2 separate regions of the Homo sapiens genome follow, and region 1 is linked to region 2. Evidence: promoter capture Hi-C in 16 types of primary human blood cells and fetal thymus (Javierre and others, 2016). All regions are on one chromosome and are shown on one strand. The core of a region is centred on a gene start or on the middle of the fragment in contact, and the rest is flanking DNA. Distances in the headings are between cores, read along the strand shown.

What was found. The method cuts DNA at HindIII sites, captures the fragments that hold promoters and counts their contacts. A CHiCAGO score of 5 or more calls a contact.
Region 1: a contact is called between a fragment that was not itself captured here and the fragment with the promoter of WBP11 in region 2, in 2 of 17 cell types (neutrophils and monocytes). The highest score is 7.0, in neutrophils.

What each region holds. Positions count from the first base shown.
Region 1 is chr12:14,268,439-14,272,787 of GRCh38, reverse strand. No RefSeq gene overlaps it. Among named protein-coding and RNA genes, the nearest start is that of ATF7IP, 95 kb to the left of the region's middle. The HindIII fragment of the contact is 5,994 bases long and covers 1-4,349 here.
Region 2 is chr12:14,800,511-14,805,179 of GRCh38, reverse strand. WBP11 (WW domain binding protein 11) reads left to right here and starts at 1,702. Exons shown (of 12, transcript NM_016312.3): 1 at 1,702-1,828; 2 at 3,752-3,860; 3 at 4,397-4,428. The coding sequence starts at 3,797. It overlaps C12orf60 (chromosome 12 open reading frame 60), which reads right to left and starts at 1,510. Exons shown (of 2, transcript NM_175874.4): 1 at 1,429-1,510. It overlaps SMCO3 (single-pass membrane protein with coiled-coil domains 3), which reads left to right. Exons shown (of 2, transcript NM_001013698.2): 2 at 1-530. RefSeq lists an enhancer at 1,167-1,406. The HindIII fragment of the contact is 2,157 bases long and covers 20-2,176 here.

The DNA.
Region 1 (4,349 bases), core at 765-3,264, 530 kb after region 2:
TACTAAAAATACAAAATTAGCCAGGAGTGATGGTGCATGCCTGTAATCCCAGCTACTCTGGAGGCTGAGGCAAGAGTATCGCTTAGAACCTGGGAGGCAGAGGTTGCCCTGAGCCGAGATTCGCCAGTAGCACTGGGCAACAAAGGGAGACTCTGTCTCAAAAAAAAAAAAAAAAAAGAAAGAAAAAAAGAAAAGAAAAGAAAATGAAGTCAGACCTAGGGAACATTTTCGGGATTTACTAAACATCTACCCACAGGGAAGGAAGAAAGAATGTCAGCGATATGGACAGTTGCTATCATACATTTTTGGATTCTCTTAGATCTCAGTACTTTATAGGGAATCAGAGTCCTCATTTTTTTGGCCAGTGTGGAAGATCCTGTCAGTACCATGCTCATATCCCTGCAATACTTACTGTTTCTATATGTGCAGACGGTATCCTACTGCTAGTACATGATGCTGCCCGAGGGCTTTTCCTCAGTTCAGGTGTAGAGAAAGTCCTCAGCGCTGTAGAGTTAACACTCCTGGAAGCAACTATAAACTAATGACTGATAGTAATTAGAGGACAAACTCCAGCTTCCTCTTCCCCTCAGGTGGGACAGCTCCCACAGGTTCCCAGCATGACTGACCCTCGGTTGCCCCCATTGGTAACGTAATGGTCTAGGCTTCCCTCACTTCCCTGTCTTACTGCCCCTTTCCCCTGTCAGTGCTTCCTATGATCACCACTCAAACTACTTACATTTAAACCTTTTGCTTAGGGTTGGCTCCTAAAAGAATCTGGCAGAAGACAGCCTAATTATGGGGAAAGCACTCCTGCCCAAAATAATCGGCTAAATTTCTCCATTTTTTCAAGTTTCAAATTCTATCCATTAGGGGTGCATATGGGGGGCCAGGCATGGTGGCTCAAACCTATAATCCCAGTACTTTGGGAGGTTGAGGCAGGTGGATTTCTTGAGCCCAGGAGTTCGAGACCAGTCTAGGTGACATAGTGAGACCTCATCTCTGCAAAAAATACAAAAACTTGCCAGGTGTGGTGGTGCATTCCTGTAGTACCAGCTACTAAGCGGCTGAGGTGGGAAGATCGCTTGAGCCTAGGAGGTCAAGGCTGCAGTGAGCTGTGTTCATGCCACCGCACTCTGGCCTAGGTGACAAAGTGAGACCCTGTTTAAAAAAAAAAAGGGATGCATACGTGGTGTCAGGTGTCAATTTGGGAAATTCAGATACTCCTTGCAGGGTTATGAAGCAACCATCATTTTTTCCACCATATCTTAGGGAAAATGGTTGGTGACATTGCTTTCTTCTTATTACTATTTAATCTCACCCAAAATAATTGGCTAAAATTATTGGCTAAAATAATTGTCTGCTCAAAAGAATCATTAGCCATCATAAAGTAAGTAAATTCTCACTGCCTCATTCTGGGGCAGGCTCATGTCTGAAGGAGTGTGATCTCAAGTGTACATCTGCAATTTGGAATCGAAAGACTGCAATTTGAAGTTGAAATACAAATGGGCAGTGGCTGAACCATAGATAACAACAGAACTCTGACCCATGAAGGGGATCAGAACATGTTGCCCCCAAATACGCTGCTTTAGCATATTGATTATTTTGAACTGAAGGCAATTGAAAAACAGCAAATGGCCTCTTGACCTTCACTTTTCTTTTTTTTTCTTTTTCTTTTTTTTTTTTTTCGAGATGGAGTCTCACTCTGTCTCCCAGGGTGGAGTACAGTGGTGCCATCTCTGCAAGCTCCGCCTCCCAGGTTCACGCCATTCTCCTGCCTCAGCCTCCTGAGTAGCTGGGACTACAGGCACCGGCCACCATGCCTGGCTAATTTTTTGTATTTTTAGTAGAGACACAGTTTCACTGTGTTAGCCAGGATGGCCTCGATCTCCTGACCTCGTGATCTGCCTGCCTTGGCCTCCCAAACTGCTGGGATTACAGGTGTGAGCCACCACACCTGGCCTGACATACATTTCCCATGAGAAAGGTGCTCTCCCATAACCAGAAAGAAAACATTCTTATCAATGGAAATGGAGAATTGACACTGATTGTTTGTCTGCACAAACAAACCTTATTAATATAGCCCTTATCTTCCATTAGTTTTCCTCATATACTTCCTAGGTACTTTCCAAAAACTTACCACCTGTAGAAGCCCAAACCCCTGTCCTTTATCTACCTATGTCTTCACAATTTATTGCCTTTTGTTAAAATGGTATATAAACCTCTCTATCCACATGTTTTGAGGTTTTCACATCTTCTCTGTGAAGCCCTCCATGCCATATAAAAACATTAACACCAAATGAAATTGTATATGTTTTTCCTGTTGTAATATTTGTCAGTTTAATTTGCAGGCCCCAGGTACCTAATAACATAAGAGGGTAAAGTTCTTCCTTCCTTCATTGACAACATGCAGCAACCTATCCAGGAAACTAATCACTTATTTTCAATAGCCAACCAGTGAGACAGTCTGCTGTAAGTCAGATTTGTTGGGAGTCACAGATCTTTAGTGACAGTCTAAGAGGCCAAACAATAACAGTTGTTTCCTGTGACAACAAGCCAATATGGCCAGGACTTGATTAATAACTGACCGCTTTTCTAATTTTTGTCCCTGCTTCCAAATTAGGACCAATCAGAGGAAACCGGATGGGTGCAGTGGCTCATGCCTGTAATCCCAGCACTTTGGGAGGCTGAGGCAGGTGGATCACCTGAGGTCAGGAGTTTGAGACCAGCCTGGCCAATATGGTGAAACCCAGTCTCTACTAAAAAAAAATACAAAAATTAGCTGGGCATGGTGGCGCACGCCTGTAGTCCCAGCTACTCAGGAGGCTGAAGCAGGAGAATCGCCTGAACCCAGGAAGCAGAGGTTGCAGTGAGCCAAGATTGCGCCACTGTACTCCAGCCTGAGGACAGAGTGAGACTCTGTCTCAAAAAAAAAAAAAAAAAAAAAAAAATCAGAGAAAGCCAAATGTGTACCCCTAACCAATCACATAGGAATTCCTGTTTCTAGTTTGCCTGCTTACAGCTTCCTCATGCCAACAGCCTCTAACTGGGGCATAGTTGAAGCCTTTCCTTTTTCCTACAATAAAACTTTCCTACTCCTCTGCCTGCCTTGGAGTGTCTGCCAAAATACAAGTGACAGTGGTTGACTCCCTAGCTATAGCAATCTCTGAATAAATAGAATTTGCTTGTTCTCATTTGGTTTGTCTTAGTTTTTTTCCACATTCTGTCCACCCTTGTAACTTTCTATTTGGGGGACTTGTATTTGATATTATGCCTTATTCTCTCCATCCACTTTGTCCTAAAGTGGATGACATACTATTTTAGAGTTCCAATTGTAAAAATGCCTTTTATCCCTGGATAAGATTGCATTTTGATCCTTTTAATCTCAATGAGCCAGAAGTTTTAGGGCACCAAGAGAAAAAGTCTGGAGGGTTTCATATGTCCTTTTCCCCACTATCAAATGCAATCACAAAACAGTATTTCAATATTATCAGTACTGCTTTTGTTCCTATCCCTTATCTGAAGTCGAGAATCTTCAATTGTTTAAAGTTTCCTAGTTAAAGTTTCCTAGTACCTTCATATAGCACTGCTTGCTAGGTGTTTGAGGACAGGAGACTCTTGACTGCCTACAGGTTTACCATTGAGTCTCTACAGAGACTCTTCTTGGGAAGGCGAGTGAGTGTCTTGGCCTTTTTAGGGTCCATGTGACAGAGTGTAACTTTCTTACGACTTATCAGACTGGTTATTTGTTTGTTCTTGCGGACCTTGAATATCTGAGATAGGTCTCAGTCAATTTAGCAAGTTTATTTTGCCAAAGTTAAGGATGTGCACCTGTGACACAGCCTCAGGAAGTCCTGATGACATGTGCCCAAGGTGGGAAGAATACAGCTTGTTTTTCTTTTTCTTTTTTTCTTTTTTGAGACAGAGTTTCACTCTTTCGCCCAGGCTGGAGTGCAGTGGCTGATCTAGGCTCACTGCAATCTCCACCTTCTGGTTTCAAGCGATTCTCCTGCCTCAGCCTCCCAAGTAACTGGGATTGCAGACGCCTGCCACCACACCTGGCTAATTTTGTATTTTTAGCAGAGATGGGGTTTCACCATGATGGCCAGACTGGTCTCGAACCCCTGACCTTGTGATCCGTCCGCCTAGGCCTCCCAAAGTGCTGGGATACAGGCGTGAGCCACCGCTCCCAGCCCACAGCTTGGTTTATACATTTTGGGGAGACATGAAACATCAATCAACATATGTAGGATGAACATTGGTTCAGTCTGGAAAGGTGGGATGACTTGAAGCAAAGGCAGGACAACTCAAAAAAAAAAAAAAGGTGGGACCACTCAAAAAAAGCAAAAGCA
Region 2 (4,669 bases), core at 453-2,952:
TCATAATTTATTATAAGCTTTCAGAAAAAAGAATATAATTTCATTTTCAACACTAGCAAAAAGGAGGCAGCTGCCTTTGCTACATGACGCATTAGGTGGGCCATTTCACTAATTACCTGATTTTAGAAAACGCCAAAGGCTATGGAAGCCTATTAATGGTTCCGCTGAATCTCTGCAGATGTGTTTGTTTTCTAAATCCTTTGCCAACCAATAATTCCCATGAGGACTCTTTTAGTCTATACTGACAAAATTATTAATATGCTGTTGATGCCAGACTGTGTTTGTTATAGTTGATTCTCCCATCCAAGTACAAGAAATGTATTGAAATAAAAACTGCTCAGCATATCTTAAAAATAGTAGCTACATATAAAATTTTAGCTACATGAAAGACTTTAATATTTCCAACATACACTGTTTTCTCTTTCTCTTCTTGCATTGTTTTTCAAAACGAGTTGCAAAACTATGATCACTAATGTGTTAGGAAAGAAAAAAAACTAGTTGCAAAACATTACAACTTAGCTCACCTTCGCAGTTCAAGATTATTTTCTTTTTTATGTACTACCTGGTTTATCAGCTTTAACCTACAATATCTCGTCATTGCTTTCTGACACTCAAATTCAGTCTAAAATCAAATCAAGAATTTCCTAACACAAAGGTAAGTTTAGGTATAGGACCGATCTTATACCTTCAAGGGCAGTTTAAAGATTCTGCTAAAAATTAGTATGTATCTCCATCAATATTTTGAAATATTTATAACTGGTGGTAAGAATAGCCTTCCTACATGGGATAGTCAGGTTAAGATTAGAAATAACCAAGCGTATCCTCTAAGATAGTTTTTTAAATGTTTAAACTTACCTTTAAGGGAAATAAGTGGGGGCTGACTCACGGAAAGAGGGGATAGAAGGTAGGGAAAGGGCGAAGGCTAGAGTTAAGTGAAGAATCCCGTACGTAGAGTGACATCATAGAGGACTTTTGGCTGGTGAAAAGACCAGTCGGGAATATAGCCAATATATATCAACCTTGCCACTCATATAACTTAAAACCGACTGCATATGTATCCCCGTATTTCTTCTTCAAAACACTACTAACAAATAATAAATCACCGCCCATATAAGCAATCTGCGACTCTAATACGGGTGCTAATTTATTTGTTCAGGTGGTCTACAAACGTTCTGTTCTGCCTGTCTATTAAATTTCCACACGTACTAGGCGCTCACATGGGATAACCTGATGCTTACAAAGCGGATTAAACTCAGTGGCAAATGTTATCTGGGTATTCGTTTACACACGGAGACACCCCTAAAGGATCGCACCTGCTTGGGTCATAAGAAACAGAAAAATGCAAAAACTAAGGTAATTCCAAAAGACAGAAAACGCAGAACGCTTCTTTATCTGCAGAATGTACCGTTCTCGGACGGCTCAACGTACCAGGCTCCCAGCAACTAAGTCAAGATGCCTCCAACTCGAGAGACAGGACCGTCAGCCACTCAGTTAGCAGCTATCTTCTTCTAATTCCTATTGTACTAGATGAGCGCAATGAGGCGGGCTCTTAGCCGACAACCAACCAATTGAGTATTGTATGGAACCGGAAGAGACTCTGGTCCTGGAATTCTTGGGTATTCTCTATGGTTCCAGGGTCAAGCGGCGCTAAGAGAAGGCGGGACAGAGGAATGGGAAATGACGTGAGGAGTGCGGAGGGGCGCGAGGTTTCAAGATGGCGGTAGCTGAGGGGTTGACCGAGAGACCCAGTTGAAGGCCTTTACGAAGTGAAAGAGGCCGGGAGTCGCCCCCTACCCGCTTCTCGTAGTCCTGGGAGCACAGCAGAAGTGTGAGTGTATTGAATTGATTTACTACTCTTCCTCACCTCTTTCGTCCCTTCCACGTCCCGCGCAGCGGCTTGGGGGACACCCAGCCCCTTTGCCCCGCTCCTCCTCTCCCTGGTTGAGGTCTCCCTGTTGCGGACTGGGCTATTCCTGGGCCTGGGGTGGCGCGGCGACCAGTGGTTGCGCGGTTGGCATCGCCCGGGTCGGTTGGGGCCGCTTCTTACGCACGTTGATTAGTAGCCTTAGGTTTGACGTCTTGTACCTCGAGTCATGGTCGGTCAGCCGTCGCTATGGTTTCGTCAGTTGCTGGTGTTGCCTCCTTTGGTGAACCTGGACCCTATCCCATTGAAGCTTCTTTGGCTGTTTAGAGTTATCCAACGCTTATTTGGCTTGATTTTCCAGTCGCCTCCGCTTGTAGACAAAAAACTAATCTGCAGACTTAAGCTCCAGTGTCTTCCGTAAAATTCTCTGTAATTCGTATCCGTTGTGTTTCATTTGTGGGGGAGGAGATTCAGAACATGAGCCTGAGGAAACTTGAGAAAGGAAAGCACAAAAAACGCAGGCAATCAAAGATGGGAGAGCTTGTATATGTACTGATTTTGCTTGTTTTCCTCCTTCCCTACCTCCTACTCCCTGCTGCTCTCCCACCCCCCTAACCCCCCCATCCCCAGTTTTTCTTAGAAGGAAACCACTTGACAGGGTGTATGGTAGCTAGGCCAGGAATATGGATCCATTATAAAGATTTTAGTTAAGTAGTGAGTCAAACATCACAGGATATTTTATTTGTAATCTCATTGTATCATCAGAGCTTTGTTATAAAGTAATTGATGTCCCCATTTTTTAGATGAGGAAGCTAAAAATCAGAGCCTTTGATACCGCTGTCTTGAAGTAATTGCCACCAGAACAGCTGTGAAACATCTGGCTTTCTGAAACATCTGGCTTTCGGGGCAGTTGGACACTTGGTGAAAGAGACATTAACTGTAATAAACTGGGCTGACAAAATCTTCCCTTTCTTACCTTTAAAAAGTGTCTACTTGCAAAAGGAAGCAAATTTGTCCGCCTTTATTACTGGAAAGACTGCGCTTCAAAAAATTAAGCCCCATTATTTTGGAATAAGAGGAAGAAGTCATGTAATAGGGTACTGTGTTAATAAAAGTTTTAGCTTACAAAATATTTTTTCCTCAAACAAAAATAAGTATTCCCTTTAATTACCTTAAGAAATATATATTGGGAGTCAGGTCTTAGTAAGAAAAATATGTGTCTTAATATTTAAGTTTTGGGGAGCTCTCAGTATAGCACTAATTTCAAATATTTGCATTTTTAGTTGTGTTTTGAACTCTTGAGAGTCAAGCATTATATCTGAACTAGAACTGAATCTGAATTAAATATGCTTAAATTAATGAGTTTTTAGTGTCTTAGAAGTATTGAGAATGTACAGCATACATGCCAAGAAAAACCATGGAGAGAGGCAAAGGTGAGGTATGTGTTTTGAGCCTAGATCCATTACCCCCATTCCCTTCTTATTCTTCTTTTACAATTACATGTTAATAAAGGGAGGTTATAGAAGAAGGACTAATGAATTCTGATGTTCATGGTTTGTGCCATATCGTTAAAGCATTTTCTAGTTGTTTTTATCAGTTGACAAAGTCAGTGCTGTGATCCATAAGAAAAAAGCTAAACTGATGACTTGAGGATATTCAAAGTGGTCTTCACACTCATCACATTTCTGAAGAATGATAGAGATCTAAATTTTCATGGTCAAGAAAGGTGATGCCATCTTTCTTGGACATTAAAGTCAAAACTAAGGAAAGAACAGTCTCACAGAATTTCTAATTAAAGGAATTTTTTTTCAGAGATTGGTAGGGACTAGAAAAAGGAAGAAATACATTTAGGAGATATAAGCTATTTCTTTGTCTTCACCTTCACAGGTTTTTCTTTTTTTAATGAACAAGTAAACCATACAAATTGTCAACATGGGACGGAGATCTACATCATCCACCAAGAGTGGAAAATTTATGAACCCCACAGACCAAGCCCGTAAGTGTCCATTAGTGTGGAATGATGAAGTAGGAGAGTGTTAAAAATTGCAAATATTAGGGAATTTCTTTCTCTGTGGCTTAATTACAAGACCAGCAGTGATAGGAGGAATAAATTATATATTCAGGGTTTGTATGGGCACATTAAGACTTTAAATATGCAAAGAAATTAGTACCCGTATTTTATTTTTCAAATTTGATTGACTTGCAAAGTAGAATTGGCTGAAATCTTTCTTTTTATATTGGAAATTTTGAGCAAATTAGTTTTGCGAGCCCTTGTTTCGCGTTTTATGTTATGTTTTTCCTTCAGATTCATAGTTGTTTTTTATGAAACATTAAACAAAAATGTCTTGACATTTTTGGTTGTCATAATTAGAGGGATGCTCTTGGCATGTAGTGGAGAGAATCCAAAGATGCTGCTCTTTTACAGTGCATACTGTAACTTTCCACAATAAAGAATTACCTGTATTAAATTGGAGGAAATGCTAATGTTCAAGATTCAAAGATTTTATTATATCTCCCTCTCTCCTTTTAAAGGAAAGGAAGCCCGGAAGAGAGAATTAAAGAAGGTATGATTTTAGAGGCATCTTATAAAACTTTAAGTATTGTTTGGTACATCTTGTGATTTGGGATTAGTGGGTTTCAGAATAACATTTCTAATATTTTCTAGAAAAGGTACTTTATGCTTTTTATAAAAACTGTAAGATATACTAAGCCAAACTTTATTTAGGAACTGAAGTAACTTTGCAGAGAAGCTCACTACAGGTTATAATGCCATTGTTTGATTACTTTTCCCAGTGAGTTAAAAAA